Regions from separate parts of the Homo sapiens genome. Here regions 1, 2, 3, 4, 6 and 7 are each linked to region 5. The links are contacts of gene promoters, found by promoter capture Hi-C in blood cells and fetal thymus (Javierre and others, 2016). All regions are on one chromosome and are shown on one strand. Each heading gives the region's core, a stretch centred on a gene start or on the middle of the fragment in contact. The rest is flanking DNA. Distances are from core to core; before and after follow the strand shown.

Region 1 (3,299 bases), core at 694-3,193, 350 kb after region 5:
AGAGATTTTTTCTGGCTTGTTCACCACTCTATCTCTGTCCCCTAGAACTAGCCTAGCACACAAGTACTCAGTGACTATTTGTTGAATGAATGGATGAATGGGCTCTCTATGTGACCCATGGGCGTATCATTTCCATTCATTCACTGGGGGGCTGACTGGGCAGGAAGTGGTGGATAAGATCACCAGGGAAAGAATCAAATTGCCCCTAGAAACAGAGGTCCTTGCTGACCCACAACTGACCTCAGACGCATGAGTAAGTCCAGCTGAAACCAGAAGAACCAGCCAGCTGAGCACACCCTAGATTTCCAAATTGCAGAAATGAGAGCTAAATAAATGGTTATCCTTTTAAGCCACTGAGTTTTTAGGTGGTTTGTATGCAGCAATAATTTATGCATTCACTTATCTATTCAGACATTTATCATGTGCCCACCCTCTGCCTGGCTTGAAGTCATTTACTTTCCCATCACGTCTTTACTGAGAACTATTCTGTGCTGGGCTGTACTCCAGGTGCTGGAAATACACAGTGAACAGAAAATAGCCTGTTTCCAGTCTGGGGAGGCAGTTACTAACCAGATGGCTTGAGGGTCTGGGGGTCTGTCTGGACGTCTGTGCTTGGGGATGGTCTCTCAGAGAGCGTCGTGGTGTCATCAGTGGGATGAGCTGAGAGAGTGGCCAGATCAGTGGAGGGCAGGAGTGAGCCATGGAGGCAGAAACAAGGGATATTACTGAGAGTCTGCATCTGGAAGAAACCCCTCTCCCACATCTACACAGCTGGTGTGCAGGGTCAGGCATCCCCCCTACTCCACACCTAGAGGCAATAAGTAATGACAGGCATTGAAATGCTGAAATAAGCACATAGCCCCGGTTGCGACTATCTGATCTGCCTCAATCCCCGAGGGACTCCAGACCCCTCTCCTAGGACCTTCTGGCCCACACTATAATCCAGGAGATAAAGGAACGAAAGGGCAACACCTGCCAAGGACTCTGACCCAGCTACATAGTCTGGAGAAACTTGTAAAACATTCTGAATATTGGCTGGGTGCAGTGGCTCATGTCTGTAAACCCCAGCACTTTGGGAGACTGAGGCGGGCAGATCACCTGAAGCCAAGAGCTCAAGACCAGTCTGGCCAACATGGTGAAACCCCGCCTCTACTAAAAATACAAAAATTAACTGGGCCTGGTGGCACACACCTGTAATCCCAGATACTTGGGAGGCTGAGGCAGGAGAATTGCCTGAACTCGGGAGGTGGAGATTGCAGTGAGCCAAGATTTCGCCACTGCACTCCAGTCTGGGCAACAGAGCAACACTCTGTCTCAAAAACAACAACAACAACAAAACTATTCTGAATATCACCTCTGCCCCCAGACCGAAAATACCAAAGGATTCTTCTCTTGAAAAAAAAAAAAAAATCAGTACCTCCAAAGAAAAGGCCTCCCCCAAGCACTGAGAAGTGCCCCCACACCACATCGGAGGCCTCAACAAGAAGCCAGCAGACAGAGAAGCTCCCTCGTGAAACCCAAGTTCCCTGGAATTATCTCAGTGCCCCACACCCTAAATAGGAACTGGCAACCAAGGATTACAAGATATTCAGGGAATGCATTGCCCAGAGGAAGGTATAAGCCAGATCCACGGCAGAGACCACAGGAATGCGAAGGACAGCCATACTGGTGTGTGGTGCTCATGCACCCTGGGGTGAGACAGTCTGGACTCAAATTCCGGTTCTGCCACTCTTGGCTGTATTGCCTAGGGCAAGCTGAGTAACCTCTCTGGGCCTCAGTTCCTTTTCCTGTAAAATGGGAGTAATGACAGTTCCCACCACACAGGATGATCACAAGCATCAAATGACTGAATACACAGAAGCTTAGCACAGTGCCCAGCATGAACAAGCTCTCAGCAAAAGTCAGCCATTGCTATTACTGTCTGCTCAGCACTCTTCCTCCTTCTGGAACAGCTCTCCCTTTCTTTGTGGGAAGACATTGCCCTCCCTTCCCCAGTTATAACCCAGGCTACAAAAGGAAGCTTGTGACCTCAGTCTGGTCCTTCCCTGAGACCTTTGAAATCCCAAGTAGGGATATTGAGTGACAGCTAGGTACTATAGACTGAATTCTATCCACCCCACCAAATTCCATGTGATGGTATTTTGGAGCGAGGGCCTTTGGGAGGTAATTAGGGTTAGATAGGATCATGAGGGTGGGGCCCTCATGATGGGATTAGTGCCCTTATAAGAAGACACCAGAGAGCTTGCTTTCAAGCTCACAAGCCCACCCACACATGGAGAGGACATGGTGAAGACAGAGCAAGAGAATGGCTGTCTGTGACCCAAGGGGAGCCCTCGACAGACACCAACCCTTCTGGCACCTTGATCTTGGACTTCCCATCTCCAGAACCGGGAGAAATGAATTCCTATTGTTTAAGCCATCCAGTCTGTGGTATTTTGTTATCGTAACCTGAGCAGATTAAAACCCTAGGTGAAGTCTGGAAGTTTTGAGCTAGGAGGCTCAAATAACATGAGCCATTTCCTTCCTAGGTGGAAGAGAAGCAAAGATAGAGGAGGAAGAGAGGCCCTGGGGGCTTTCATGCCCAGCCTCTAGGCAACCCAGAGGCTCAGCAGTGACAGCCATTTGTCCTTGATGAATTTCTGTCACATATATCCAGGAACATGGACCAATACATAGAGCAACTCAGGTCAGCAAAGACTCAGTAAATTAATGCAGTGATGTGAGAATGCTTTATCATTGATAAGTGTGGACACAGCTGCTATCCCCCACCCCTACAGGTGCACTTTTGTACAAACTAGAAAAGTTCCCTTCTGTAAAGCACTTTATTTCCATCCATTGTAGGATTGTTTTAATAGATAGATTCTGTAAGAATGAGATGCTTTGCTGCTATCACTAGAAAACTGGAACAATTATAAAGACCGACAAAGGGAATGGCATTGCCCGAGAGGTGGTGCTCTCGTTCAGTACCCAGTCTGCACAACTGTACATGTCTCTCTGGGAGTGGCCTACTCTACAACACTTTCCAGTGTGGGGCTGCCCCTCAAATAAGGATCATCACGCAGGCATTAGAGGCGATCTGTTGCCTTATCTCAGCTCAGTCTCCTTTCCCACACCTTCTGGTAATACTAACTCACTTGTCCAAAGGAAAATCCCCTCTTCCCTGACTCTTGGTCTATGTGGTTCAGGCATGGCTGGCTGAGCCTCTTCTCTAGCCCCAGGGTGGGGCACAAGACTCAGGCCTGACCAATGAGAGCAGCTCATTTCTCAGGCTCTCATTGGTTCAGACATGAGCATGTGAC
Region 2 (3,234 bases), core at 735-3,234, 340 kb before region 5:
ATCTTCCCAGCCTAAGCCAGGCCCTGGGGTCACGGAGGCTGGGGAGGCACCGAGGAACGCGCCTGGCATGTGCTGACAGGGGATTTTATGCTCCAGCTGGGCCAGCTGGGAGGAGCCTGCTGGGCAGAGGCCAGAGCTGGGGGCTCTGGAAGGTACCTGGGGGAGGTTGCACTGTGAGAATGAGCTCAAGCTGGGTCAGAGAGCAGGGCTGACTCTGCCAGTGCCTGCATCAGCCTCATCGCTCTCCTAGGCTCCTGGCCTGCTGGACTCTGGGCTGCAGGTCCTTCTTGAAAGGCTGTGAGTAGTGAGACAAGGAGCAGGAGTGAGGGGTGGCAGGAGAGAAGATAGAGATTGAGAGAGAGAGAGAGAGAGAGACAGAGAGAGAGGAAGAGACAGAGACAAAAGGAGAGAGAACGGCTTAGACAAGGAGAGAAAGATGGAAAGATAAAGAGACTGGGCGCAGTGGCTCACGCCTGTAATCCCAACACTTGGGGAGGCCAAGGTGGGAGGATGGCTTGAAGGAAAGAGTCTGAGATCAACCTGGCCAACATAGTGAGACCCCGTCTCTAAAAAAAAAAAAAAGAAAAAAAAAAGAAAAAAGAAAAAAAAGTTTTTTTAAAGAGACAGAGAAAGAGACTCAGAGATTGAGACTGAGAGCAAGACAGAGAGAGATACTCACAGGGAAGAGGGGAAGAGGAAAACGAGAAAGGGAGGAGAGTAACGGAAAGAGATAAAAAAGAAAAGCAGGTGGCAGAGACACACAGAGAGGGACCCAGAGAAAGCCAGACAGACGCAGGTGGCTGGCAGCGGGCGCTGTGGGGGTCACAGTAGGGGGACCTGTGATGGCCCTGGGGACGACGCTCAGGGCTTCTCTCCTGCTCCTGGGGCTGCTGACTGAAGGTGAGTGGGATCCCAGCCTTGTACCCAGCGCCAAGTGGCCCCCATTTCCCACTTACCTTCCCTAGACAAACCCTCTGCCCTTTCCTTGCACCGCGCTGTGTCCTCAGGCCTGGCGCAGTTGGCGATTCCTGCCTCCGTTCCCCGGGGCTTCTGGGCCCTGCCTGAAAACCTGACGGTGGTGGAGGGGGCCTCAGTGGAGCTGCGTTGTGGGGTCAGCACCCCTGGCAGTGCGGTGCAATGGGCCAAAGATGGGCTGCTCCTGGGCCCCGACCCCAGGATCCCAGGCTTCCCGAGGTACCGCCTGGAAGGGGACCCTGCTAGAGGTAAGGGATCAGAGCCTGAGACCCTCAGCCACCAGCGGAAGCTGCGGCCCTGACTTCCGGCTCCCCCTGCAGGTGAATTCCACCTGCACATCGAGGCCTGTGACCTCAGCGATGACGCGGAGTATGAGTGCCAGGTCGGCCGCTCTGAGATGGGGCCCGAGCTCGTGTCTCCCAGAGTGATCCTCTCCATCCTGGGTATGGGTGAGAGACGCCCAGGACCCATGAGTCTGGGCTTCAAGCCCTCCCCTACCCCGCAACCCGGAAGTCCAAGCCCCCAGCCTCTCCTCTCCCAGACTCTGGGTACCGAACTCCAATCTTCAAGTCCTTCTCAGTGCTGGAAGCTTACCCCAGACCCTTCTCTCACCAGTTCCTCCCAAGCTGCTCCTGCTGACCCCAGAGGCAGGCACCATGGTCACCTGGGTAGCTGGGCAGGAGTACGTGGTCAACTGTGTGTCTGGGGACGCGAAGCCAGCACCTGACATCACCATTCTCCTGAGTGAGTGTGGGTGAACTGGGTGGCAGGGGGCAGCATGAAGCCTCTGGAGTGGGAAGGGTGTGTGTTCCTGACCAGTACCCTTCTAAGGGCCCCAGAAAAGATGTCATCCCTGGGATGGGGACCCAGGAGAAGGTGTGGGGAGATGCTGAGGCCAGTGTGGGACCCAGTGGATGCGAGGGCACATCGAGGGCGGCAGCAACCAGCACAAGGCTGAGGCCCAGATAGAAATATGGGCAGTAGCGCTGGTGCAGACATGAGAAGCTGAGGGATAGGGTGCATGGTACAACCCAGCAAGGAGTTGAGAAGAGCGGGGAGGCCCAGGACCCAGCACTGAAGACTGCGGCATTCAGGCAGTCCAGAAAGTCGGGAGGGGATGCAGCTCTGCCCCAGGCCCTTTTCCTCTAGAACGAGGAGGGAGGGGGCATCGCACCCACCCTGAGGACTTCCAGGCCATGCTCCCCAGAATCTATCTTGCGGGGAGCCTGGAACCCCTCTAGCCCTCTTGCTGCCCCAAGGTGGACAGACAATATCTGACATCTCTGCAAACGTGAACGAGGGCTCCCAGCAGAAACTCTTCACTGTGGAGGCCACAGCCAGGTGTGGAAACTGAAACAACCCCCCAACCTTGACCCCTAATTTTCCCCATGGGAACCCCAGACCCCAGGGATGCAAGCATGAAGCTTGGGCTAGGTATGAACATCTGGGACCCAATTCTTCATCCTGACTCTCAAAGCTTCTTCATGGGGAACAGAGGTGGTGGCTCATGCCTGTAATCCCAGCACTTTGGGAGGCTGAGGTGGGCGGATCACCTGAGGTCAGGAGTTCAAGATCAGCTGGGTCAACATGGTGAAACCCTGTTTTCACTAAAAATACAAAAATTAGCCGGGTGTGGTGGCGCATGCCTGTACTCCCAGCTCCTCAGGGGGCTGAGGCAGGAGAATCACTTGAACCCAAGAAGTGGAGGTTGCAGTGAGCTGAGATTGTACCACTGCACTCCAGCCTGGGTGATAGAGCCAGATTCTGTCTCAAAAGACAAACAAACAAATAAACAAACAAAAAAACTTCATGGGAACCTCAGTTCTAGAGTCCCAAGCACTAAAGTTTTGGTCAGATGTGGGGCTCTCTAGGCTCCAATTCTCACTGTTCACCCCCAAAATCTCTCCCATGGAACCCTGGATCCCAGAGGAGATCAGCATGGGGACTTAGACCAGGTGTGGGGACCAGAGGTGACATCCCCACCTCTTCTCCCTGACTCCCCAAATTTCAGATGATGACTCTGACTCTATAACCCTGACTTCTCATCCCAGGGTGACACCCCGGAGCTCAGATAATAGGCAGTTGCTGGTCTGTGAGGCGTCTAGCCCAGCACTGGAGGCCCCCATCAAGGCCTCATTCACCGTGAATGTTCTGTGTAAGTGGAGAACTGGGCCAACTAGGGCGCTGAGGATGGGGAGCAGGCACTGGGGGGTGTGGGGGGATCACAGGGATTATGGAAATTCAGGCACTCAGAGAAAC
Region 3 (3,015 bases), core at 138-2,637, 350 kb before region 5:
ACAGGTCCCCTGCCCCTAGCATAGTTGCGCCTCTTTATTGGCCACGCCCCCCAGCCTCCACGCCTTAGATCGCGCAGCACCCTGGACCACGCCTTTTTCAAGTCTAGCTTTCTATGGGCGGCCCCGCCTCTCCCGTTCGGCCCCGCCCACCTGTCTGCAGTACTCCAGCACGCGCTGCGGGTCCCGGAGACAGCGTCGAGAGCGCTGTGGGTCTGGTTCCCAGCGGCCGGTGCGCAGGTCCCGGTGAAGGGTTAGGCGCCCGCATAGTCCAGCCACCTGGGCCGACCCCGGGGCCTGGATGGAAGTGGAAAGGACAGTGAGGGCTCGGGGGGCGTTGGCATGAGGGTCCCCTGGTTCTTTGCTCCCTAGGACCGAGACCCCCAGCACCAGCCCCCTCCCCCAAGCACCGCACACCGCCTCCATGGAGGCACCGTTCCCTGGGAAACAGCTCCCGTAGGGCGGGGGCGCCCCAGCGCTCCCGTTGCTATGGCGACCTGGGTCCCCCGGGATTCTTTCTGCCTTGTTGCCGCGGAGACAGACTCCGCCCCCACCCCAGCGCAGCCGCTCTGGAGCCCGAAGGGGTTAAACCTGAATCGCGGAGGAGGAGGCCAGAACCCAGGAGTTCTGGCCCCTCCTCCCTCCATCCCTTGCTCAGGCTCCCGTTGCAGGATGCAAAGCTGACAAGGCCTGGCTTCAGGGGCCTACAGTCCTGGACACCAGGTCCTTGAGGACTGGAGAGCTACATCTGGTTGGGGTGGGTGGTGACTGAAGGACTGGACTCCTGGGTCCTGGGAGGCTGCAAGGGCCTCCATATGGGTCCAGAGAATACAAGGGGTCTGGATTATTGGATCTAAATGCCTCGCTGCTTGGTGGGTCCTATGTCCAGGCGGGAGGGGGTTGGGGCCGAGTCACCTGGGTCTGGAGAGGGGGCTGGACTTCTGGGACCAGGGGCTCTGAATAGACCAGTTCCTATGCTCGAGATGGGAGGGGGCTGGGACGTCGCATGATGGGGGAGCTGGGGCCTGGAACCCTGGGTTCATAAATGTGATTGGGGGCGCCTGGGGGCTGACCACCTGGCTGGAAAGACCGCGCTTTCTGCCCTGGACATGTCCGCGCCGGCGTCCAGAGACCCGGTCCCGCCCCTTCCCCCATCCCCCAGGACCCGGCCCGGCCTCACCTCGGCCGCGCCGGGGCTCCCACCGGCCAGGCTCCCGATGGCGGGCTGCGCGCGCAGAAGCAGCAGCAATAGTGGCAGCAGCAGCGGCAGCGGCGGCTGGCCCGGGCGGCGACTTAGACCGCGAGCAGCGGGGCTGGCGGGCCCCATGTCCCGGCCCTTGCGCCCTCACGTCCCCTGCACTCCCGCCCGGCCCGGCCCCAGCGGTGACAGGAGCTCCCAGCGCCACCGCCGCCACCTCCTCCTCCCGCCGCCCCCGGGCTGCGCCGGCGCCGCCAGCCCCGCCCCGCGCCGGCCCCGCCTTCCTGGTCAGGACAATAGCGTGGCGGCTTCGCGCAGAGTGGAGCAGCTCGGGAACCCCGGGCGGGAGCCTGCGCCAGGCCCCCGCCCCTCGAGATTCCAGGCGTCCCGCCCCATGAAGGGCCCAGCCAGGAGTCCGGCTATGGGCTCCGCCCGTTGTGGATTTTGAGTCCTCCCGCAGGACTCTCACCCTCTTTAGACCCAGACACTCACAGTTTTGTCCTTTTCCAAGGATGCAAGCATCAGAGACCCCCATCCCCTAGTACATTCCTCTGTTGAGGGCTCAGGAATACAGGCCTCCAAAATGTCCCCAGTCAAGAAGGCAGCAGTTGAGACCTAGTCCCTTCCTCTTTCAGATCCAGAAGTCTGGGCACCTTCTCTCTCAGGACCAGAGACCAAGCCCCCAGCCCATTCTCCTTCAGACCCAGGAGTTCACTCTTCTTGCTCTGCTTCCCAAGGGTCCCAGGGGCCTGGACCTTTAACTCCTAGCTCAAGGATCCATGAACCAAAGCCCCCAGGACCTTTCTTTAAGGATCATCCAAGCAGGCACCAGCACCATGCCCACTGTGGATGCAGCACCTCAGGATTAGGGTCTGGATCTCCACGCTTGCTGTAAGGACCAGGGGATTGCCATTTTCCTACCCATAGTCTCCCCTTCCCTGCTCCACTTCAGGGCTCACTTGTTTGTCTCCTCTAATGAGAGTTAGAATTCAGTCTTCCCCAGGACCCCTGGGGCAGCCCTGTCACTTGTGTGCAACTGTGTGGACATCTATGCGTGTGTCTGTGCATACATGCCTATGTGTGTGTCTTTTCTGTTTGCAACTCATGTGTGTGTGTGCGTGTGTGTGTGTGTGTGTGTGTGTGTGAAGATGTATATTAAAAGAGCCCATGGCTGGGCACAGTGGCTCATGCCTGTAATCCCAGCACATTGGGAGGCCTAGGTGGGCGGATCACTTGAGGTCAGGAGTTTGAGACCAGCCTGGCCAACATGGTGAAACCCTGTCTACAAACAAATACAAAAATTAGCTGGGTGTGGTGGCATGCACCTGTAGTCCCAGCTACTTGGGAGGCTGAGGTGGAAGGATGGCTTGAGCCCAGGATGCAGAGGTAGCAGTGGGCTGAGATCATGCCACTGCACTCCAATGTGGGCCATAGAGCCAGATCTTGTCTCAAGAAAAAAAAAAAAAGAGCCTAGAGTGCTTTGCAGGTAGCAAGAGGCTGAGAGGTGGCTCACAGTTTTACTCCTACAGCCACCTCATAGGCTAGGGTAGAGGAGGGACCTTGGGACAGGTCTAAGGGACCCCTTCCTTGGTGGAGAGTGATAATGCCAGTAGACTCCCTAAGACACACTTGCCTCTTTGACTTTTTTTTATTATTAAACATAAATATTTTTATCCCAATATTTTGCCCCAACAGTGGTAATTCTCACTGTATCCCCACTCCTTGGGTCCAAGTCTTTCTGAGTCTTTAAGGAAAGTAAAATCAAGATGGTGGCCATCTTGGGTTCCTAGGGAGTATATGGCCATCTTGGCTGCATTTCC
Region 4 (3,269 bases), core at 720-3,219, 320 kb before region 5:
TTAGTTCTGTCCCTGCAGAATTGCAGACTTGCAGACTCCTTAGAGCTTCCTCTTTTTTCTTTCTTTCTTTCTTTTTTTTTTTTTTTTTTTTGAGACAGAGTCTCATTCTGTTGCCCAGGCTGGAGTGAAGTGGCAAAATCTTGGCTCACTGCAACCTCCACCTCCCAGGTTCAAGCGATTCTTTTGCCTTAGCCTCCCGAGTTGCTGGGATTACAGGCACCTGCCACCACACCTGGCTAATTGTTGTACTTTTTTAGTAGGGACGGGGTTTCACCATGTTGGCCAGGCTGGTCTCGAACTCCCGACCTCAAGTGATCTGCCTGCCTCAGCTTCCCAAAGTGCTGGGATAACAGGCATGAGCTACGGCACTCGGCATTTTTTTTTTTTATTTTTTTATTTTTTGAGATGGATTCTTGCTCTGTTTGTTGCCCAGGCTGGAGTGCAGTGGTGCGATCTCGGCTGACTGCTATCTCCACCTCCCGGCTTCCTCTCCTGCCTCAGCCTCCCGAGTAGCTGGGACTACAGGCACGTGCCAACACGCCCAGCTAATTTTTTGTATTTTTAGTAGAGATGAGGTTTCACCGCGTTAGCCAGGATGGTCTTTAACTCCTGACCTCATGATTCACCCACCTCAGCCTCCCAAAGTGCTGGGATTACAGGCGTGAGCCACTGCATCTGGCCAATTTTTTTTTTCTTAGATCTTCCTCTTGCCTGGAGTGATAAATTTTCTTCTCTTCCAAATTTAGTTTAATTCCGTAAGAATTAGCTCACTCCATGTCCTGTAAGAAGCCTGCATCAGTTAGCTTTTGCTGTATAATGAACCACCCCAAACATGGGTGCTTATAGCAACATTCTTCCTCATGATTCTGAGTCTGGCGGAACAGTGCTGGTCTGGGCTGGCTTAAATCATCTCTGCAGTCAGCTGGCAGCTCCACTGGACTGGGTGGTCTAGGGTTGCCCCCTTCCCACACTTCTGATAGTCATCTGGCTCTTGGTTGGAACAATGGAGATAACTGGGCGCGTGTCTCTTCTTGACTTTTTCACATGGAGGTGGTCACGGGGGTCAAAAGCAGCAATTTACTAGCTGATTCCGTCATAGTTGTGTCTCATTGGCCAAAGCAAGTCACATGGCTCAACACAGAGTCAGTGTGGAAAGGCCCCGCACTCAAGGATGTGACTACTGGGAGATGATTGCAACCATTTGGCAAAAAAATCCCCTTCAGAGCCCGAGAAAAAGGTTGCAAGTGACAGAAATGCAGCTGTTTTGTCAACACGAAAAAGAATGGCTTGGCTGGGCACAGTGGCTCATGCCTATAATCCCGGAACTTTGGGAGGCTGAGGCAGGTAGATCACTTGAGCCCAGACGTTGGAGACAAACCTGGGCAACATGGTGAAACCCCATCTCTATAAAACAAAAACAAAAAAAATTAGCCAGGCATGGCAGTGCATGCCTGCAGTCCCAGCTACTCAGGAGGCTGATGCGGGAGGATTGATTGAGCCCAGGAGGTTGAGCCTTCAATGAGCCGAGCTCACGCCACTGCACTGCAGCCTGGGCAACAGAGTTGAGACCCTGTCTCAAGAAAAAAAAGAAAAAGTCTTGGTATATGAAATAAAAAATTCCAAGTGTGGCCACTTTCAGGTGCTCAAAAATCTCACCAGCGATCTGTTTCTCACCCTCTCTCAACTTTGCCTTCATCTGTGGTGGCTTCTTTCTGAGTTTCTTCAATCAGAGGGGCAGAGAAGCCCTCCTCCACCTCCATCTTCTTGACAGCTAGTAGAATTGTCCTAAATGTTTTGTTAAAAACACACGTTGGGTCAAATGCCTGTGTCTAAACAATCACTGTGGAGAGAGGAATGGAGACTCTTATTTTCCAGGCCGGGCCATGTGCCCACTGTGGAGTCCTGCCTGAACCCAAGACTGAGATTGGGGAGTGGCTGTTCTCCCCAGGGGAAAAAAGTGCTATTAGTAGAAGACAGGGGAGATTGCCCGCCCAACAGATGCCTACTTAGAGGGGTTCAGCCTTGTCCTCAGGGATATAGCAGCCAAGTCAGCCTGATATTGGCTGGGATGGAAGTTGGTGGAAAGAAGTCATTTGAGGCTGGGCACGGTGGCTCGCGCCTATAATGCCAGCACTTTGGGACGCCAAGGTGGGCAGACCACTTGAAGCCAGGAGTTCAAGAACAGCCTGTCCAACATGGCGAAACTCCGTCTCTATTAAAAATACAAAAAAAAAAAAAATTAGCCGGGTGTGGTGGCATGCGCCTGTAATCCCAGCTACTTGGGAGGCTGAGGGAGAAGAATCGCTTGAACCCTGCAGGTGGAGGTTGCAGTGAGCCAAGATCATGCCACTGCACTCCAGCCTGGGTGAAAGAGTGAGACTCTTTTTTTTTTTTTTTTTTTTTTGAGACAGGGTCTCATTCTGTCACCCAGGCTGGAGTGCAGTAGCGTGATCTCGGCTCACTGCAACCTCTGCCTCCCCAGTTCAAGTGATTCCCCTGCCTCAGCCTCCCAAGTAACTGGGACTACAGGTGCCTGCCACCACACCCAGCTAATTTTTTGTATTTTAGTAGAGACAGGGTTTTACCATATCGGCCAGGCTGGTTTTGAACTCCTGACCTTGTGATCCAACCCCTCAGCCTCCCAGAGTGCTGGGATTATAGGCGTGAGCCACCGTGCCCAGCCAACTCCGTCTTAATTAAAAAACAAAATAAAATAAAGAAGTCCTTGAGATGGGATTTTTTTTTCAGAGGCAGGGTCTTGCTCTGCTGCCCAGGCTGGAGTGCAGTGGTGCTATCATAGCTCACTGGAGCCTTGACTTACCAGGTTCAAGCAATCCTCTTGCTTCAGTGTCCCGAGTAGCTGGGACTATAGACATGCACCACCATGCTGCTAAATTTTTAATTTTTTTTGTAAAGAATCAGCCTCACTATGTTGCCTAGGCTGGTCTTGAGCTCCTAGGCTCAAGCGATTCTCCCACCTTGACCTCCCAACATGCTGGGATTACAGGCATGTGCTGCAGCGCCTGACCTTGAGATAGAATTTGAAAGGCAAACAGAAGTTTGCTTGAGAAGAAAGGACATTTGAGGACAGACACTTAACTATTCCAAAGCTCTGAGGTGTGAATTTGCTTCAGTGATTCTGGAAACAGCTGGTGGTTGATTTGTGTGGCTGGACAGTCCAGTACCAGGGTCTAAGTTTGGTGGGCATGGCTGGAGGCGTGGGAAGAGGCTGGACCACAGAAAGTCTTCAGTGCCCAGCTAACGAGCTG
Region 5 (3,248 bases), core at 522-3,021:
TACTAAAAACACAAAAATTAGCCCAGCGTGGGATTACAGGCCCAGCATGCGCCTGTAATCCCAGCTACTTGGGAGGCTGAGGCAGGATAATCACTTGAACCTGGGAGGCGGAGGTTGCAGTGAGCCAAGATCGTGCCATTGCACTTCAGCCTGGGCAACAGAGTAAGACTCTGTCTCAAAAAGAAAAAAAAAATTAGCTGGGTGTGCTGGTGTGCATCTATAGTCCCAGCTACTTGGGAGACTGAGACAGGAGGATCGCTTGAGCCCAGGAGGTCGATGCTGCAGTGAGCTACAATTGTGCCAGTGTACTCCAGCCTGGGCAAGACCCTGTCTCTAGAAAAAAAGAACCATCTCCCAGAGTTGTATAATTCTTAAACTGCTTGTGCTTAGTCCAATGCTGGGTACATACAGAACCGCTGATAAGCTGGAGCTGTAATTATTATTATTATTATTATTATTATTACCACCATCGCTATTATCATCATTAACGAGTCAGAGATGGAATAACAGGGAAGTAGGAGCTGAGGAGGACAGATGGGGATAGTGTTTACAAGGTAAGAAGTGTTGGATGTTATAAGCTGGGGTGCGGATATTGGGGTGGAGAGAAGAGAGAGACTGACTGAGAGACATTGAGAAAGGCTGATGGAAACTGGCCCCTCCTAACTGGGCGATGAACCCCAGTGATACGAAACAGTGGGAGGCCCTGTGGCCCCTGGGAATAGAGAAGCAGCCACACTTGCTGGGCAGGGGTGAGGCGGGGGGAGGCTCCCAGGTTCTGTATCCCGAGCTGGGACTGGGGAGAGGGCCGTGGCTCTCACGGATGGCTCCTGACCTTGCGCTACCCTCTTCTCGCTTGCCATTGCTGCCCTGGCCCCTGGCCTGGGGGATGGGTGGGGTGAGCTGGCCCAGTCCCGCCCCTCATAGGCGCTTATACTCACACGTGCCCCTCTAGGGCTGCGTAAACAGGATGGGTGCCTGGGTCAGCGGCTCCCTCCCTTGGCCTTCCCTCCCACTCGTTCCCTGGGGGTGGCTGGCGCGCCTGGCTGCCCTGCTCCGCGCCCAGCTTTCTCAGCCGGGAGCAGCCTGAACGCTGAGACACCCTGCTGACCACTCAAAGGGCTATGGCCACCTCCTTCCCCGACACCGAGGGTCCCCCCGGGGGCTCTCCCCAGAATCTCAGAAACTGACACGCAGCCCCGTGTTTGCCAGTCTCTCTCTGTGGGCTGGAAGGTGTGGAGGAACAAGAAGGCAGTCACCTGTAGGTGGCAATGCGGGAGGGGAGAGGGAGAGGAGAGGCTGAGGTGCTGAAACCGAGAAAGGCCAGGCCGAGGACGGGCAATGCCTGTCACTCTGGAGCCCCTGAGCCAGGCTGGCTGAGCCTGGGTGGGTCCTGTCCCCTGGGGCTTCCCTGTCCTTACTCCTTTGGTGGGGTCCTGCCAGTAACTCCTCTCTTCTAAGTCTGCCCCCACCCCACCGCCTCCAGGAGCCAACGACAACCTGTCTCCTTAGATGCCCCTGCCCCCACCCAGCTCCCCGAATGCCTGGGGTTGGGAAATGGGAGCACTTTTGCATCACCTCATCCATTTCTCCCTCCCTCCCTGATGCGGCTCACTCTCTGTTTCGACAGAGACTCTCAGACTCACAATAACAGCTGATTACCCTATTGGTGGCTGGGCCCTGAGTCACTGCGGGGAGGGACCTCAGGTTGCCCAGCCCTGTCACCTTCTCCCAACCTAGAGTATAAGGAGTAGTGACAGGGAGGTGGACTCTGAGAAGCCCAGGCAGTTGAGGACAGGAGAGAGAAGGCTGCAGACCCAGAGGGAGGGAGGACAGGGAGTCGGAAGGAGGAGGACAGAGGAGGGCACAGAGACGCAGAGCAAGGGCGGCAAGGAGGAGACCCTGGTGGGAGGAAGACACTCTGGAGAGAGAGGGGGCTGGGCAGAGATGAAGTTCCAGGGGCCCCTGGCCTGCCTCCTGCTGGCCCTCTGCCTGGGCAGTGGGGAGGCTGGCCCCCTGCAGAGCGGAGAGGAAAGCACTGGGACAAATATTGGGGAGGCCCTTGGACATGGCCTGGGAGACGCCCTGAGCGAAGGGGTGGGAAAGGCCATTGGCAAAGAGGCCGGAGGGGCAGCTGGCTCTAAAGTCAGTGAGGCCCTTGGCCAAGGGACCAGAGAAGCAGTTGGCACTGGAGTCAGGCAGGTTCCAGGCTTTGGCGTAGCAGATGCTTTGGGCAACAGGGTCGGGGAAGCAGCCCATGCTCTGGGAAACACTGGGCACGAGATTGGCAGACAGGCAGAAGATGTCATTCGACACGGAGCAGATGCTGTCCGCGGCTCCTGGCAGGGGGTGCCTGGCCACAATGGTGCTTGGGTGAGTGGCTGTGGGGCTGCATGTGGAAATGGGAGGCTGTGGGCTGCTGGGCTGAGATTCTTGGGAAACGGTTGAAAGGATGGATGGATCTCTTACTTGCAGGCTTCTGGGGCAGCTTCCTTCTATGTTCTGCCCCCCTCCTATGCCACCCTGGAGTCCCTCTGCCTGTCTCTCTCCTGGTCTCTTTATGATTTGCCCTGGCTCTTCTCTACCAGGGTCAGAGATGGTCCCACTAAGTGCAGGTATGTTGTTCTTGCAGGAAACTTCTGGAGGCCATGGCATCTTTGGCTCTCAAGGTGGCCTTGGAGGCCAGGGCCAGGGCAATCCTGGAGGTCTGGGGACTCCGTGGGTCCACGGATACCCCGGAAACTCAGCAGGCAGCTTTGGAATGAATCCTCAGGGAGCTCCCTGGGGTCAAGGAGGCAATGGAGGGCCACCAAACTTTGGGACCAACACTCAGGTAAAGTCACCCCCAGACCTGCTACCTGCCACCTCCCTCCCTCCAAGCCCACATGCTCCGCGTGCCTCCCTGGTCCCTCTGGATCCTACTCTCAGTCTCACCCTCTCTGCAGGGAGCTGTGGCCCAGCCTGGCTATGGTTCAGTGAGAGCCAGCAACCAGAATGAAGGGGTAAGAGGAAGGGGCTGGGAACAAATGAAGAAGCCACTGGGTGCAGGCTACAGAGAGCTGGGGAAAGACAAAGAGGAAAGCAAGATGGGGGAGTGGAGGGATTGGGGTGAGAGGAAGAGATGGGGCTGGGCGAGGTGGCTCACACCTGTAATCCCAGCACTTTGGGAGGCCAAGGCACGTGGATCACCTGAGGTCAGGAGTTCAAGACCAGCCTGGTCAACATGGTGAAACCCTGTCTTCACTAAAAAT
Region 6 (3,053 bases), core at 270-2,769, 380 kb after region 5:
AAACACACACGCCTCCAAGAGCTTTTGGGCTGAGGCGGCTGCCCCCTGGGAACTGGGTCCAGCCAGGGCCGAAGGTCACCCAGCCTGACTGCCCAGGAGCCCACTGACCCCCGATCCCAGTGCTCCGTGAGGTCCTTAACAGGGCTGTTTTAGAGGACGGGAGGGAGGTGTGTGTGTGTGTGTGTGTGTGCGCGCGCATGTGCGCTATCTGCTGTGGTGAGATCCCCAGAAATGCACCACACACACACACCCACACACAATCCCAAAGACCCAGATATACAGGTACAAAACCAGACAAAACCATGTATGTATGTACATCCATAGAAGCAGACACACACAGAATGACACACTGATAGAGAAACCCAAAGACCCGGACACACAGCCAACACCTTTTATGCCAGTCACAAAATACCAGAACAAGCACATTTATGTCTACACAGACCCACGCACGCTCATGTAGATGGATGGCCACACAGAGATACAGTCAAAGACATAGCCACATCACCATCTACACTCACAAACTGGCCACAAAAATGCATGTTTATGTGAAGACCCACCCACAAATGGCCATACAGAAACACACAAGTATGTGCACACCGCACATAAATGCATTCTAAGATGCATGGCCAAACATGGCCAGGTACGGTGGCTCACACCTGTACTCCCAGCACTTTGGGAGGCCAAGGCGGGAGGATCACTTGAGGCCAGGAGTTCAACACCAGCCTGGCCAACCCGACGAGAGCTCGTCTCTACTAAAAAAATATACAAAAATTAGCTGGGTGTGGTGGCGTGCGCCTGTAATCACGGCTACTCCGGAGGCTGAGGCAGGAGAGTCACTTGAGCCCGGGAGGCAGAGCTTGCAGTGAGCTGAGATCATGCCACTGCACTCTAGCCTGGGCAACAGAGCGAGACTCTGTCTCAAAAACAAAAACAAAACAAAAAAACCCCAAAGGTACAGACATGCAGCCAGCACTCCTACATGGTCCCAAAGATAGGAAGGCCAACAAGCTTGTGTACACACAGACAGATTTCCATGGGCACAGATACACAAGCAGAAACACCATCAAGGACAACCCGCCGCTCTCACACATACCCACAAAAGCAGAAACACACACACTGGTTCACACCCTATGCTTGAGCAAACAGGCACATGGTTGGCCACGGTGACAGATGCGCAGGCTGACACACTTGCATGTTCACACATTCCAAAACCACAGATATGTATTTAACCCCACACTTTCCTTCCCCTGAGCTCTTGTCGGGGACAACACACCTGGCGTCCCCATGGGCAGGCCAGGTTTACAGGTCCTGGTGACAGGGAAACCTGGAATGGCCCAGGCACTGCACTCCTGGTTGTGTGAACTTGAGCAGCTCTGTGCCTCATTTTCACATGCTCCAAAATGGAAAAATCACTAAGATCACGTGTATAATCCTGGACAGGGCTCAGAGGTCTCTGAACTTGACATTGTCTTATGATTAACTTCATTTTTTGTTTGTTTGTTTGAGACCGGGTCTTGCTCTGTCACCCAGGCTGAAGTGCAATGGCACAATCATAGCTCACTGTAGCCTCAACCTCATGGGCTCAAGTGATTCTCCCACCTCAGCTTCCTGAGTAGCTGGGACTATGGGCGTGCGACACCATGCCTGGCTAATTTTTTAATTTTTTGTACAGTCGGGGTTTCTCTATGTTGCCCAGGCTTGTCTTGAACTCCTGGCCCCAAGCGATCCTCCCACTTCAGCCTGCCAAAATGTGGGATTACAGAAATGAGCCACCGTGCCTGGCCTATTATTATTGTCCTTGTCATCCTCCTCCTTGTGAACTGGACTGCTGGGCTGGGCACCCTATGAGAGTGGGTTCAGATCCCTCTGTGCCCCTGGCACTCAGCTCTCCAACTTCACTTTCAGGGACCCTGTTTATCATACCCAATAGTCAGTGAAGGAAACTGAGAGCTGACGGGCATGGCTCAAACCACAAGCTGCTGGGGTCTGCTCCTCTAGGAGCTGGATCCGGAGCCCACCCCCAAGCTTGCCGACCACTGTGGGATGCCCACCTTGTGCTGAACCCCAAAAGGATGAGTTGCCTCCATCACCTGAGTCCTCTCCACAACTGGGAAGCGGGTGCCACGATTGTCCCCGTTTGACAGATGGGAAAACTGAGGCCACACAGGACTGGGCCTGGAACCCAGATCTGCATGACCTCCAAGCTGTTAAGCCCCCTTATCCTCCAACGAGGCTTCTGGGCGTGGGCGTCAGTGTCAAGAGAGGCTGCATGCATTCCTCAATCACAGGATGAGTCTCGTCCCCAGGCGATGAGGTGGTACAGCCTAGGGGTTAGGTTTAGAGCTGACTAGAGCCAGGAAACTAATCACATAACTTCCCTGTGCCTCAGTTTCCCCATCTGTAAAGCAGGGATAGCAGTACTGCCCATCTCACAGGGTGGCTGTGAAGGCTGAGTGAGTATAAACATTACTACTATTTCATCTTAGCTAACAAGTGTCATTTACTTATGTTTCTTATTTAGTGGACAGAATCTATCCAAATGACTAAAATTTAGTCCAGATTAAAACAACCAATTATCCATCTATCCATGAACTCTGATCTCCAAAGAAAGAATGCAAAATAACCTGGAGCCGGATGCCTGGGTTTGAATCCCGGCTGTGCCCTCAGCTGGGTAACCTAGAGTTCAGGTTCCCTGACCTCTGTCTCCACTTCCTCCAGCTGTAAAGTGGTGATGATGACAGCACTAACTTCAGAGGGCTTTGGCAAGATCAGAATGAGTTAATAGATGAGCTTTTAGGACAAGGCCAGGCTCAGAGTAGACGCTGAAGAAGGGGTGGCATCATCATCATCATCTTCACCATCATCATCATCTTCATCATCATCATGTCCTCGGGTTGGTGCTGTCCCCCAGTGGGTGTTGGCCACTAGAGGGTTAATTTCAGGGTAGGGGAGGGAGGCTAAGGGCTTGGGGCCGGGCAGAGGTCCTGCCGAGTATGACCACCAGAGGGAGCAGCTGGACGTGATCTGGCCCCACTGACAGCGCCCAACACACC
Region 7 (3,045 bases), core at 59-2,558, 330 kb after region 5:
AATGTTTTTAAATTGATCGTGATGATGGCTGTACATATCTATGGATATACTAAAAACCATTGACTTGTACATGATTTTTAAAAATTTTTAATTGCTGTGGGTACATCATAGGTGTATTTATTTATGGAGAACATGAGATGTTTTGATACAGGCATGCAATGTGAAATAATCAGATCGGCTTGTATGCTTTAAATGTGTGAACTGTATGGCATGTGAATTGTATGGTAAGCGAATTCTATTACAAAAATTAAAAAATTAAAATAAGAAAAAAGAGTTGCCCTTTCCATGACAGGAACAGTTCAATGTGGCTGGGCGCAGTGGCTCACACCTGTAATCCCAACATTTTGGGAGGCTGCGATGGGTGGAACACCTGAGGTCAGCAGTTTGAGACCAGCCTGGCCAACATGATGAAACCCTGTCTTCACTAAAAATATGAAAATTAGCTGGGTGTGGTGATGGATGCCTATAATCCCAGCTACTCAGGAGGCTGAGGCAGGAGAATCTCTTGAACCTGGGAGGTGGAGGTTGCAATGAGCCGAGATTGTTCCATTGCACTCAAGCCTAGGTGACAAGAGCGAGACTCTGTCTCAAAAAAGAAAAGAAAATTAAAAAAGAGACAGTTCGACGTAATTAATTAGCCATCAGCAGACTGGTTGATTGTCCTGAGGAATGGTGCAATAAATCATTGCTAATTATAGTCATCCTACAGTGCTAAGGAATGCTGGAAGTTATTTTTCCTATCTAGCTGTAATTGTGTATCCATTTGCCAACATCTTCCTATCCCCTTCAACCCCTATCCAGCCTCTAGTAACCACTATTACATTCTCTACTTCTATGATATCAACTTTCTTAGCTTCCACATATGAATGAGAATATGTGGTATTTATCTTCCCATGCTTGGCTTAATTCACCTAACATAATGTCTTACAGGCTCATTAATGTTGCCACAAATGACAAGATTTCATTATTTTTACGGTGGAATAGTATTCCATTGTGTATCTGTACCACATTTTCTTTATCCATTCATCTCTTGAAAAACACTTACGTTGATTCCATATCTTGGCTATTGAGAATGGTGCTGCAAGTCTGCCAGACTCAGAACTTACCCACCTAGACAGATCAAGCAAGAGTTTAGTAGGCTCCCCCATCTATTTCATTTCGAGGCATACCATGATAAAGTAGTGAATGCCAAAGGTCTCTTTGAGTCACATTATTCTTATTACTATTTTGACTTCACTATCAACTATAGTAACCATGCTTACCTTATCTTTGGCATATAAGTACAGATATCTCTTTGACATACTCATTTCCTGTCCTCTGAATATATACCCTAGAGTGTATTGCTGGATCATAGATAGGATAGTTCTATTTTTAGGTGTTTTTAAGGAGCCTCCATACTGTTTTCCAGTATGATTGTACTAATTTACATTTCCACCAACAGTGTATAAGAGTTCCTTTTCCTCTGCATCCTTGCCAGCTTTTGTTATTTTTTCTCTTTGATAACAGCCATTCTAAGTGGAGTGAGATGATATCTTATTGTAGTATCAATTTGCATTTGCCAGATGATTAATGATGTTGAATATTTTTCATATATACTTGTTGGTCATTTGTATGTCTTCTTTTGAGAAATGCCTATTCAGATAATTTGCTGATTTACTACTCCTTGAGGATTTCTTGTAAGGCTACTTTAGTGGTAATAAATTCCCTCAGTTTTTGCTTGTCTGGGAAAGACTTTATGACTCCTTCATTTCTAAAGGATAGATTTGCTGTTACAGTATTCTTGGCTGCCAGGTTTTTTTCTTTCATCACTTAGAATATATCATCCCATTCGCTCCTGTAATATAAGGTTTCTGCTGAGAAGTCTTCTATTAGTCTAATGGGGATTCCCTTATATGTGACTTGATGCTTTTCTCTTGCTGTTTTTCAAATTCCCTCATGGTCTTCAACTTTTGACAGTTTGACCAGAATGTGCTACAGAGAGGACCTTTTTGGGTTGAATCTATTTGGGGACTTTTGAGCATCCTGAATCTGGATGTCCATACCTTTCCCGAGACTTTGGAAGTTCTCAGCTATTACTTTATTACATAGGATTTCTGTGTCTTTTCTCATCTCTTTTCCTTTTGGAAATTGGAATATCTGTTTGCTTAACAATGTCCCATAGGTCTTGTAGGCTTCCTTCATTCTTTTTTATTTTATTTTTTGTCTGATTGAGTTATTTCAAAAGAGACCTGTCTTCAAGTTTAGAAATTCTTTCTTCTGCTTGACCTAGTTTGTTGTTGAAGCTCTCAATTATATTTTAAATTTCATTTATTGGCCGGGATCGGTGGCTCACGCCTGTAATTCTAGCACTTTGGGAGGCTGAGGTGGGCAGATCACCAGGTCAGGAGTTCGAGACCAGCCTGGCCAACATGGCGAAACCCCGTCTCTACTAAAAATACAAAAATTAGCTGGGCATGGTGGCAGGGGCCTGTAATCCCAGCTACTCAGTAGGTTGGGGCAGAAGAATTGCTTGAACCTGGGAGGCAGAGGTTGCAGTGAGCCAAGATCATGCCATTGCACTCCAGCCTGGGTGACAAGAGCAAGACTCTGTTTCAAAAAAAAAAAAAAAAAAATCATTTATTAAGTCTTCAGCTCCAAAATTTATGTGTTTTTTTTTATGATATCCATCTCTTTACTGATTTTTTTTCATTCTGATCATGAACTGTTTTCCTGATTTTTTTGGGCGGGGGATGTTGTCTCACTCTGTTGCCCAGGCTGGAGTACGGTGGCACGACCTTGGCTCACTGCAACCTCCGCCTCCAGGGTTCAAACGATTCTTCTGCCTCAGCCTCCCAAGTAGCTGGGACTATAGGCATGCACCATCATGCCTGGCTAGTTTTTGTATTTTTAGTAGAGACATGGTTTTGCCATGTTGGCCAGGATGCTCTCAAATTCCTGACTTCAGGTGATCCACCCACCTCGGCCTCCCGAAGTGCTGGGATTACAGGCGTGAGCCACCGCGCCCAGCCCTGTTTTCCTGATTTTGTTGAATTGTCTATTTGTATT

The links. The method cuts DNA at HindIII sites, captures the fragments that hold promoters and counts their contacts. A CHiCAGO score of 5 or more calls a contact.
Region 1: a contact is called between a fragment that was not itself captured here and the fragment with the promoter of DMKN in region 5, in 11 of 17 cell types (total B cells, naive B cells, monocytes and 8 more). The highest score is 11.2, in total B cells.
Region 2: a fragment that was not itself captured here is called in contact with the fragment with the promoter of DMKN in region 5 in 2 of 17 cell types (M0 macrophages and M2 macrophages); the score reaches 7.6 in M0 macrophages.
Region 3: a contact is called between the fragment with the promoter of APLP1 here and the fragment with the promoter of DMKN in region 5, in 2 of 17 cell types (M2 macrophages and M1 macrophages). The highest score is 5.6, in M2 macrophages.
Region 4: a fragment that was not itself captured here is called in contact with the fragment with the promoter of DMKN in region 5 in 4 of 17 cell types (M1 macrophages, M0 macrophages, M2 macrophages and 1 more); the score reaches 7.4 in M1 macrophages.
Region 6: a fragment that was not itself captured here is called in contact with the fragment with the promoter of DMKN in region 5 in 6 of 17 cell types (naive CD8 T cells, total B cells, naive CD4 T cells and 3 more); the score reaches 6.2 in naive CD8 T cells.
Region 7: a contact is called between a fragment that was not itself captured here and the fragment with the promoter of DMKN in region 5, in 6 of 17 cell types (monocytes, total B cells, neutrophils and 3 more). The highest score is 11.1, in monocytes.

The regions. Positions count from the first base shown.
Region 1 is chr19:35,161,517-35,164,815 of GRCh38, reverse strand. It overlaps FXYD5 (FXYD domain containing ion transport regulator 5), which reads right to left. Exons shown (of 9, transcript NM_014164.6): 6 at 571-660. Among named protein-coding and RNA genes, the nearest start is that of FXYD5, 8.4 kb to the right of the region's middle. The HindIII fragment of the contact is 159 bases long and covers 1,864-2,022 here.
Region 2 is chr19:35,849,446-35,852,679 of GRCh38, reverse strand. It overlaps NPHS1 (NPHS1 adhesion molecule, nephrin), which reads left to right and starts at 176. Exons shown (of 29, transcript NM_004646.4): 1 at 176-900; 2 at 1,008-1,223; 3 at 1,296-1,418; 4 at 1,591-1,719; 5 at 2,235-2,316; 6 at 3,027-3,130. The coding sequence starts at 843. It also overlaps a transcript of KIRREL2 not described here. RefSeq lists enhancers at 248-889, 890-1,530. The HindIII fragment of the contact is 835 bases long and covers 1,567-2,401 here.
Region 3 is chr19:35,866,946-35,869,960 of GRCh38, reverse strand. It overlaps APLP1 (amyloid beta precursor like protein 1), which reads right to left and starts at 1,387. Exons shown (of 17, transcript NM_001024807.3): 1 at 1,178-1,387; 2 at 151-294. The coding sequence starts at 1,324. It overlaps LOC107985317 (a long non-coding RNA gene), which reads left to right and starts at 604. Exons shown (of 4, transcript XR_001753932.2): 1 at 604-869; 2 at 1,831-2,086. It overlaps KIRREL2 (kirre like nephrin family adhesion molecule 2), which reads right to left. Exons shown (of 15, transcript NM_199180.4): 15 at 2,825-3,015. RefSeq lists silencers at 1,147-1,216, 1,307-1,566. The HindIII fragment of the contact is 13,044 bases long and covers 1-3,015 here.
Region 4 is chr19:35,832,022-35,835,290 of GRCh38, reverse strand. The region is part of intron 23 of NPHS1 (NPHS1 adhesion molecule, nephrin); the gene reads left to right. Among named protein-coding and RNA genes, the nearest start is that of NPHS1, 19 kb to the left of the region's middle. The HindIII fragment of the contact is 4,977 bases long and covers 1-3,269 here.
Region 5 is chr19:35,512,172-35,515,419 of GRCh38, reverse strand. It overlaps DMKN (dermokine), which reads left to right and starts at 1,771. Exons shown (of 16, transcript NM_033317.5): 1 at 1,771-2,370; 2 at 2,630-2,830; 3 at 2,943-2,999. The coding sequence starts at 1,945. The HindIII fragment of the contact is 13,607 bases long and covers 1-3,248 here.
Region 6 is chr19:35,135,512-35,138,564 of GRCh38, reverse strand. It overlaps a transcript of FXYD1 not described here. Among named protein-coding and RNA genes, the nearest start is that of FXYD1, 1.8 kb to the left of the region's middle. The HindIII fragment of the contact is 1,017 bases long and covers 1,011-2,027 here.
Region 7 is chr19:35,183,266-35,186,310 of GRCh38, reverse strand. No RefSeq gene overlaps it. Among named protein-coding and RNA genes, the nearest start is that of FXYD5, 30 kb to the right of the region's middle. The HindIII fragment of the contact is 8,299 bases long and covers 1-3,045 here.